Linked DNA regions of Homo sapiens: region 1 is linked to region 2. Evidence: promoter capture Hi-C in 16 types of primary human blood cells and fetal thymus (Javierre and others, 2016). All regions are on one chromosome and are shown on one strand. The core of a region is centred on a gene start or on the middle of the fragment in contact, and the rest is flanking DNA. Distances in the headings are between cores, read along the strand shown.

What was found. Contacts are between HindIII fragments. The CHiCAGO score rates a contact against its expected background, and 5 or more counts as called.
Region 1: a fragment that was not itself captured here is called in contact with the fragment with the promoter of MYOM1 in region 2 in 16 of 17 cell types (megakaryocytes, erythroblasts, M1 macrophages and 13 more); the score reaches 16.2 in megakaryocytes.

Annotation. Positions count from the first base shown.
Region 1 is chr18:2,929,345-2,934,385 of GRCh38, reverse strand. It overlaps LPIN2 (lipin 2), which reads left to right. Exons shown (of 20, transcript NM_001375808.2): 8 at 1-35; 9 at 2,943-3,130. Among named protein-coding and RNA genes, the nearest start is that of LPIN2-AS2, 35 kb to the left of the region's middle. The HindIII fragment of the contact is 2,459 bases long and covers 1,175-3,633 here.
Region 2 is chr18:3,216,389-3,221,440 of GRCh38, reverse strand. It overlaps MYOM1 (myomesin 1), which reads left to right and starts at 1,473. Exons shown (of 38, transcript NM_003803.4): 1 at 1,473-1,638. RefSeq lists a silencer at 3,176-3,470. The HindIII fragment of the contact is 10,525 bases long and covers 693-5,052 here.

The sequences.
Region 1 (5,041 bases), core at 1,155-3,654, 290 kb after region 2:
GAACCTGAAGTTGCAGCTCTTTATTTCCCTAAAAGGTAGAGTGGTCCTTATTTATTGAAGGACAGCTCTGAAATAGTCTAGTTATTTCTAGAGTAAAACATTTCATCTCAGGAAAAAGGAACAAGATGATGGTGTCCTTTAGCTAAATCTGATGATGGCTTCAGGTTTTGGAAAATTTAGAAATAGCGCGTGTCTTATTTCAATATAGTGACTTGAAATTAATAATTACTTACGAAGACATTTTCAATACAATGAGGAGAGATATACTAGTTAAACCTACATAAGGGTATATGACTTCTGATTAGCATTTCCTGTAGTGGTTAATACAAACTCAACATGCTTGGGAAAATTTTTTAGCATTTATTTTATTATGTGTTTTAAAAGAAACACATCTTTATTTGAAAATGTTTTCCAAAGAATGTGTTCACTTCTTGGGAGTCTGAGATCCTGAGCCTTTTCTGAACCGGGTCTGGGTCTGGTGGGGCACTGCCCCCGCGCCCCGTGTCCCCACATCCCCTGCAGCTCCACAGCTGCCACCCAGCCTCCCTCACTGTCCCGCACCATTTTCCCTTTGAATTACTTCAAATATGGGCCTCAAATATGATACACTTGGACTGCCTTCCCAAGTTCATTTCTACTCTTAGGGGAATTCTGTTAAACTGCTACTCTGTGGTTAGAAAAAAACAACTTTTCTCCACGGAAAGTATGACTTGAATATACTGAGCCATAGGCACACATAATTAAACACTTGTAAATGAATTACTGAAAAGTATATTTTGTTTTTTATTTGGAATAGAAAGATGGGATTGATATAAAGCTATTTAAATTTTTTACAGGTATTTTGGGAAAGTTCTTAAAACTCCTTTCTAGCTCTGTCCTAAATTTATCTCAACATATCTACTTCATTTGAAGTAATAGTTGGATTTTTTTAAGGTGAAAAAACTGAAACGGCTTTATTTTAACAGTAGGAAAGTTCAAATATAAGCTGTCATAGAATTACCACTTTTCCCCCCACATTTCCCAGGCCTTAATCATTTATTTATATTGGTATTCCTTCGGTATATGTCTTAGTTTCTCTTTTAAAAAGTGAGGAGAGTAACTAAGGTGATGATACCTTACTCCACTCTACTGTAATTTAACTGTTCACAGTCACTGTCCATGCACTAAGTAAGCTTCTTACCTCATTAACTATTTCTTGAAACATTTCATAAATATTTAAAGATAGTGAGTGAGACTCTTGTAATCCATGTAAGCATTAGTCATGTCATGATCCTTAGCATCTTCATTACCAAATTTACAGTATTTGTAATTATCACTAAACTTTAATATAAATCACACACTTTTGTATTTGGTGGCATCCTGAGTCAGACGGCATCCCCATGTGTGTAGATGTTGTTGTTACTGGTTGGGGTAACACTAGCTGCTGTAGAGGTGGAACTCCTGATCTCGTTGGCCTACCACGATGGAATTTTGTTTCTTGCCCCTGTGAAGAATGCTCTGTGTTGGTGTTTAGGGGGAGGCCTTGCCCACAGGGATTCAGGAACACAGGCTCCTTTCACCTTGAGGCTCTCCCATCCCCATAGGGTCTCAGAGTCCAGAGTTTACTGGCAGCAGAGAAAGGAATGAGCATCGCATAGGAGAGGGCCCCTGGGGAGGGGCACCATGTATGCCTTCCGTCCATATTCACGGCTCAGTCATGTGCTCACGTGGCCCCACCTGACTGCAAGGGGGCCTCGCCGTGTGCCCCGGAGAAAGAGGAGACAGGTGTGGTGAACACAGAAGGGTTGGCCTTGCCCCTCACTCCCAGTATAACAACAGTTCTGCTGACTTTGTGTTTCCAGTGAGAACATTCTGTCAGTCCAGTTAATCTCAATTTTGTGGGTATGAGTGTGCATGGCTATTAAGAGGAAAAAATATCCAAAAACCTGAATTTTTTTGTTGATTCAAATGGGAAACAGGTTTTGAAACTGTTACCTAGTTAAAACATAATCTGTAGTCTGCTGCCACCTACTGCTCAAAGATGAGATTTGTTTGAAAGAGCCAGTAAACCTCTGGGTCACTGTTTTTTTAATTCACATAAAAATACTGGCTTTTTGAATAAAATAAGTGAATTTGAAAATTCTCAATATCTCAAATGTGACATTAAATACCTATTCAAAGGGTATAGAGTAGTAAGCATTGGGGACTGTGAGACTTAAGGTGCTGTGCCATTCATGATTATTCTTTCTCAAATTTACACTTCATTGCATAAGGTTTCCCTTGATCACCTTCTGAAACCTGGCTTCTGTGCCTTATCTTGAAAAATGAAAATATTCAGTAACCTCATCTTTAGCTCCTGGAATAACAGTTACATCCAGTTTATTTCTGAATACATTTCTTTTTCTAGGTGGGTCTTGCCTCTAGAGAATTTGCTCGTTTAATTTCTCCTTCCTTCTTTGTGAGGTAATAGGCGAACTTAGAAAAGATTTGGTTTTAAAGAATATAGCCTTGGACTACAGTAATTTTCTACAGGATGTATAAAGTGCCACAGCTTTTTCTAGGACGTTAGGATCAAAGGTTTCCAAACAGCAGATTTTCTTAATTACCCTGTCATTTTCATCATGGAAATGTAAATAAATACTTATAACTATTTTACTCCTTTAATTAAAAATCAGAAAGGCCACAGTTGAAATGTTTGCATTATTGTGAATGACCGTGGTGATTTTGTGACGTATTTACTATATTCACAGTTAATTTCTCACTGGTACTATATTAGGTTATCTTTCATGTCATTTATGATATGATTCTAAACCCTATCTAAGAAAAGTTATGCCTGATTGTAGGTCCATCCGTTCTTTTTAGCGGATGTGTTATTTGGTTTGAGCCCCCAGAGAACCATGCAGTAAACTAGGAATTCAAGGAGTTGTAATAAAGCACATCTTTTCCCCATCCCCTGTCCACAGTGAATCGGAGCCCGGTTCCAGGCAGTGGCCCGAGTCTGACACACTCTCTGGCTCCCAGTCCCCACAGTCCGTGGGAAGCGCAGCTGCAGATAGCGGCACCGAGTGCCTCTCAGATTCTGCCATGGACTTGCCTGACGTTACCCTCTCCCTTTGCGGGGGCCTCAGTGAAAATGGAGAAATTTCAAAAGGTACGTTGGGTGTTTGTGCCCCATCTTCATTTCAGAGAGCAATCTGGTCATCACTTGGTTAAAACTTACCGTGTAGCCATTTCAGGATATTTACATTCTTTAGGGATCTTGTGCAGGTAACAGGTATGTTCTGTAATGTCAGACCCTTATACCCTCACTTAAGGTCTTAATTGACACCTCTTTATGGAGTGGCTTTGAGGTAGTGTGCCCTTAAAGGCTCTAATTTCAAATTAAGAGGTTGGGAGTTATCAGGCCGCCCTGTTTTCTGAGCTGCCAGGGTGCGATCATCACACTGCACCAGTTTTCTCATCTGTAAAGTTACAGAAACATTTGTGGAACTGGGGCCCAGCTGCCCTTCTGGAAAGCACTGGGCCTTAGACATGAATATAGGGCCCTGAAGTTGTAGAAAATTGATTGTCCACTGAGTACGTGGTCTTTCTGGCAAAAATTAGGAGGATTACTTTCTGTATAAGGCTGGAGGGTTGGCCTACGAGAGTAAAGCTTGCTCAGGAATCAGGAGGGAGTTTAGCAGACATGTCAGGATGCCTATAGGCTGGGCTGAGTGCCATGTGCATCCGTCCTCAATTCATCAGCATTTTTTTTTAACCTTCCTTTTAAAACTGAACTCTTAGTATTTCTCAGTTTGGCCTGTGGCCCCTGTATGATTTTCTTCTAAGGGAAAATTTTCTTTCCGTGACTAGTGTCATCTTTTGTCTTCCCTCTCCCTTAGAGGAACTGAAGGTGTGATGTGGCAGACTGCATGGCCAGAGGCTCAGGACCATGTGTTCCTGAAGTCTTTCCTTTCCAGGGTCACAGGAAGCTCATTATGCCTCTTCCCTGTCTCTTCATTGTTTGTTTGCTTTATATTTTGCAAGAAATTTAAAGTGTGTTATGGCCAATGGTTCATTCTAGGGACTAAGTTAAATAGGTCACATTCTTTCTGTAATCCTCTTAAATGTTCAGTTTAAAAAATTATATGCGAGGGAATGCGAAATACAAAATGTAGGTAAAATATAAAAGTTACACCTTTGTTTTAAATATTGGTGACTTAGTCTAGTAGAGTTTATTGGAAGAGGCAGAAATGACAAGTAAATGTAAGTAATACACACATTACCTGGAGAAACAATCCAAGTGAGCAGTTTCTCTGTTAGCCTAGATCTAGGAGAATACAGGTTTAGGAACAGGGTACAAAAATTCATGGGAAGCCCTCATTCACTCTGCAAGAACTTGGGATTTATTTCACAGACCTTGAGCCAAATTCTAGGTTTTTTTGTTTTGCCTTGTTTTGTTTTTTTAATTCTCCAAGCAATTGTAACATGTAATTTTTGTTGTTGTTTTTATTATTTAAGACAGAGCCTTGCTCTGTCACCCAGGCTGGAGTGCAGTGGCACCATCTCAGCTCACTGCAACCTCCATCTCCTGGGTTCAAGTGATTGTCACGCCTGCCTCAGCCTCCCAAGTAGCTGGAATTACAGGTTGGCACCACCATACCCGCCTTATTTTTGTATTTTTAGTAGAGATGGGTTTTCACCGTATTGGCCAGGCTAGTCCCTAACTCCTGACCTCAAGTGATCGGCCCACATCGGCCTCCCAGAGTGTTGGAATTATAGGTGTGAGCCACTGTGCCTGGCCCAAACAATTTTAAGATATGTTTTGATATAATGTAGCTTGCTAAAGCTGTAAGACCCCTATGAATATTCCCCAGTTATGCCGTTGCCTGTCAGTAAAGTTTCTTCCTCTGAGAATAGAACTTCGACAGTTTTCGTGTGTGTGTGTCTGTCTGTCTTTCTGTGTCTGTCTTCCGTCCCTCTCTAGCCACATCTGTATGTATTTTTTTTGAAAGTCTCTGTCATGTCCCTTTTTACTAGTTTGTTTGTTTTCACTGGGAGACAGTGGAAAAGGAGAATAGAA
Region 2 (5,052 bases), core at 224-2,723:
TAAACTGCCTATCCCAGTGTCTGGCACTGGATAGGTCCTCAACAGTGTTAACTGTAGTTATCATCAAGAAAGTCATGATGAAGTATACTATAATATTGAGTCTGTTCAATATCTTGATAGAGACTGGGTGCAGTGGCTCACGCCTGTAATTCCAGCACTTTGTGAGACTGAGGCAGGTGGATTACTCGAGTCCAGGAGTTTGAGACCAGCCTGGGCAACATGGTGAAACTCCATTTCTACCAAGAGTTAAAAAAAAAAATTAGCCGAGTGTGATGGCATGCGCCTGTAGCTACTCGGGAGGCTGAGGTGGGAGGATTGCTTGAGCCTGGGAGGCAGAGGTTGCAGTGAGCCAAGACTGCACCACTGCACTCCAGCCTGGGCAACAGAGTGAGACCCTGTCTCAGAAAGAAAAACAATTTTGATAGACACAGGTGACCTTTATTCAGTTGATGTAATATCACTGTCAGAACATAAGGCCAGTAGATCAAAATACCAACCTGCTGCATACATGTAATCTAACAATGAGCTTTTATATTATTGGTATCAGTAATAACAGCTGATATTTACTGAGTCTATATTATGTGACTGTCACTAGGTCAAGTGCTCTGTCTGCAGTATCACATTTAATCACCACAGCAATCCTATAATTTGGATATGATTATCCCCATTTTATAGACAAAAAACCTGAAGCTTAGGAAGGAGAAATAAATTGCTGGAGATTACATGGCTACTAAGTGCTATCAATATAGTGGGATCTAGATCTGGTCTGAATCCACAACACAGGCTCTCACAACCGGGTTACACCTCCTCTTAATTGGTCACACCATTTAAAGAACAAAGAAAGAGAATCTCTTATTAGATGGACTGACCCTACTCTGAGTTAGGAAAGATAAAACACTGAGTTGCGTCTCAAAAGGCTTTAGTTAATGAACAGGAAATCACATATTCAGGCTTGAAGCTAAGACTTAACCTTGTAAATTTTCCTGAAGTGAGAGAAATAGTGACCGTGATGTCAGGCAAAAATCGCCACCACGTGTAACCCATTTCTTCCTTGTTTTGCCTTTAGTTAGCTTCAAGTTCTTTTTTCACATTGTATCTTTTAAATGTACCGTACGTGTGTTGTTAACAGCACACTCAGAATCATATCTTGGCATTAAAATTCCACGAAGTCCATTTTGAGAATCATATTACTACACCTATTTTTAGCTGTTAACACAAACCACTCTTTCCATTACACTTTTAAATTATCTACTGATAAAGTGACATTGAAAATAACTCTTGTTGCCAAATAAAAACCCTATATTTGGTTTAATCGGGCCAGACCCATTGACCGGCATTATGCAATTATATTACTAAGGCTGCTACCTGCCCATGCCCCTCTCCTCCTCCTGGTTTGGAACTACCCTCCCCATCTGCTGCTATATTTATCTGCCTTCTTGGCCATAAAAGGCTGGTTGTGTGGCCTGACATTCGACTGCCTGACCACATGCATTATTTTTGAACTGGCCCCCAGGGTCCTGTCTTTAGCCCTGCCTCTTAACATTGTCTTGGATTCAACCTAGGTGGAGTCTTCATTCTCTCATCCAGCTCCTCGGCCTCATCGGAACATTTCCACCACCATTACTCCTTTGGAAACTGGTAAGTGTGACACTGAGGCAGAAGAATGCACTTGATAGCTTATGAGCTTAGCAGCAGTGCAGTGTAAGTGCTTTCTTTCTGTCTTCTGAACTCAGCAGTTTTCTCAAAGAGATGTCAGAATAACAGAGAAATAGGAAAGTGAAGCTCCAGGGAGGGAAACCAGAACAGCCGGGTGCCAGTCGGGCTGGCACAGCTCTTCTCTCACATCACTGTATTCTTCTGAAATTAAGCTGCTGTTCCTGGAACTGTAAGGAGGTCATATCTGCCTCGGATTGAACTGTAAGCGTGTGTTTAATGCTATTTCCAAGTACGGTTTGGTTGAAATCTGAAATGGATGAGAGACAGGAGGCCCTGCATTTTCAATCCTGCATGTGCCATACAATGCTCCCTGGTTACAAATTAGACCGAAAGAAGGAAAATTAACTCTGAAGTCACTAGTTTATAATTCAGGGATCTTGCTGTGACGATGCAATGTGGATAAATGTGAGCGCGCACAATGATATGGCCTCAAATGGTTAAGTAATATTTCAGAGGCAACATAGAGCCCCACATAGTGATTTTTCTGGGAATCGTTTTCATCAGCTTCTGCCCTCTAATGCCTGCACAAAAGTATCATAAATTACAGCTATGGAATTTGTATTTCTTCCTAAATTCTCAAATTATTTTCAGAAAGAAAATTTAGGTCTTAAAGAAACAAAAGACACTAAAACCATCTTTCCTCCCAACGTACTCCAGCCGTCATGTGTTGGAGCTAATCCTGGCTTTAGTTAACTTCAAGGGCTTACTTGATGAAGAGGAGGTGGTTGTACCTTTGTTCCAGAGGTCAGGGCTGTGACAATCAGCAATGTGGGCTTCAAGTCAAACCCTGTTTACTTGTAACTTACTATCTATGTGAGAGGAATAGTAAGTATTATTAAAAATAAATGTATTTGGGAGAAATAGAAATAAAGAGAGTAAAAAATAGTATTGGGGCAAGATATTTAAAGATTTTATTTTGTGAAAATAACAGCATTTCAAGTCATCTGGGGAATGAATTTAGTTTATAACATAACAAGTTTCTTTATTATTTATTTGAAAAATCATTCAAATAACATGTGCCATGTTACAATGTAGTATCATAACAGAAACTTCTCTAATATCTTTATAACTGCCTAACGTAATTCTGTATTAACATTTTCTAACCCCTTTGTTTTATCAAAATTCATCTAGTAGTTATTAATTATACATGGTAATTATCCTCCATATTTTGTAACAGAAAATAGCCATCTATTTAAGGGTTGAAGCAAAGTTGCTTGCTAGTAGCTATTTTTTTCCCTTAGGAAATGCCCTGTAGACTGATATCTTCCATGAACCCTAAGATAAATATTTCTGGAGTGAAGTTTGCTCAGTTTTCTTCTCTGGGGAATACATGCTGACTTTTAAAATAGTTTAAATAAAAAGTAGTTTTAAACTTGACAAAGAATATGCTGAGTTTAGAAGGATTCATTCTTCATTTTGAATTTTTTTAAAAATGACATTTGGAGAAAACAGATCACTTTAAAACTAATTCTACAGCATTAAAACACTTGGGGGTGGAGCTTTTATAAAACTATTACTTCATCCAGGGTTGTCAACGTGGCTGATAGGCCTGCTTCAGTGGATAAACTATTCAAGAATGCTAAGGCCATGTGACATCTCCCCACCCTATGCTAAACAAACATACCTTTGACTTTTAGTAGAACTGCTAGCTCAAGTTCACAATGCCAGCTGTCACCCTGGGAATCGACTCTCTTACCTCTTTAAGTAGGGAGACTAGAAGCCTGCATGTTCCTTATAGAGCAAACAGGTTTTTTTGTTTGTTTTGTTTTGTTTTCTGGTTTGAGACTATACCTTTGCTTGAAATGTTTGTGAGATTTGAGAGAGCTTATATATAAGATTAGCATACTCCAGGGTTCAGTTCTAGGACTTTATTTTACTTATTTTATTTTATCTTAAATTTTTATAATAGAGACAAGGTCTCACCACGTTGCCCAGGCTGGTCTCAAACTCCTGGGCTCAGGAAATCCTCCTGCCTTGGCCTCTCAAAGTGCTGGAATTACAAGCATGAGCCACCATGCCTGTAATTTCCTTTTCTGTGTATAATGGTCCTCATCTGTTTTCTTTTAGGACTTTCTTTTCCGTGTACAATGGTTCTCACCTATTTTCTTGGCTTTCGATACCACCTATATGCTGTTGACTCCCAAATGTATATCTGCATCCTGGACCTCTCTCCTGCACTCCAGAGTCATGTATCCAGCTTCCCACTTAAAATGTCTCCTCTGGGAGGTCTAACAGGCATCTCAGATGTAGAGCATTGAAACCAATCTCCTGTTCTTCCACCCCAAACTGATACTTTCCCACATTCCTCCCCATCTCAGTTAATAGCAACTTGTCTTTCAATTGCTCAGGCAAAAACCTTGGAGTCATCTCTTTCTTTCACATCCTAATTCAGAACTTTCAGCAAATGCCATTGGTTCTAACTTCAAAAGCTGTGCAGAGCTTGACCACCTCTCACACTTTCGCTGCTACCCCTGTCACCTCTAGCCTGGACCATTGCAGTGGACTTTGTATTCTTTTGCCCGGGCTATCATAGCTAAGCGCCATGGACTGGGTGGCTTAAACAACAGAAACTTATTACCTTACAACTCTGGAGGCTGGAAGTCCAAGATCAAGGTGTCAGCTGGGTGGTTTCTTCTCAGGTCTCTTCTCGGCTCATGGATGGCTGTCTTCTCCCTGTGTCTCCACGTGGCCTTCCCTCTGTTATATACATATTTGGATCTTGGTTTTCTTTTCCTATAGAGACACCATCATATAGAATTACGGCCCATCCTAATGGCCTAATTTTAACTCAACTTCCTCTTTAAGGACCCTATCTCCAAATATGGTCACATGTTGAGGTACTGGAGGTTAGGGCTTCAACACAGGAATTTTGAGAGGATACAACTCAGCCCTTTCATAGGTCTTCTGGCTTTCACTCTCATCCCTCCACAGTCCATCTTCAGACATCGGCGAGAATGAGTCTCAGCTCAGAGTCTTCCAATGGCCTCTCAGCCCTTTCACAGTATTAGCTGAAGTCCTTACTGCTACCTACAGGACCCTACACTACTGGCCCTTCCACCAGGCACATAGCTCACCTCTTTGACATCATCTCCTATACCTCTCCCATCCCAGAACCCCTGCCAATCAGTGGTTCCTGGAGCACAATAGTCATGTTCATTCCTCAGTGCCTTTGCTCTGGTCTTCCTTCTGGAATACTCTTCCCCAGAAAGTCTCATGCTCAGATGTTACTGTCTAGAGAAGCCATCCCTGCTGAGGCTGTTGAAAATTGCATCCATCCCTCTTACCTGCTTTGTTTTTCTCTGGTTCTTGGCACATTAACCTATCTCATACTTGACT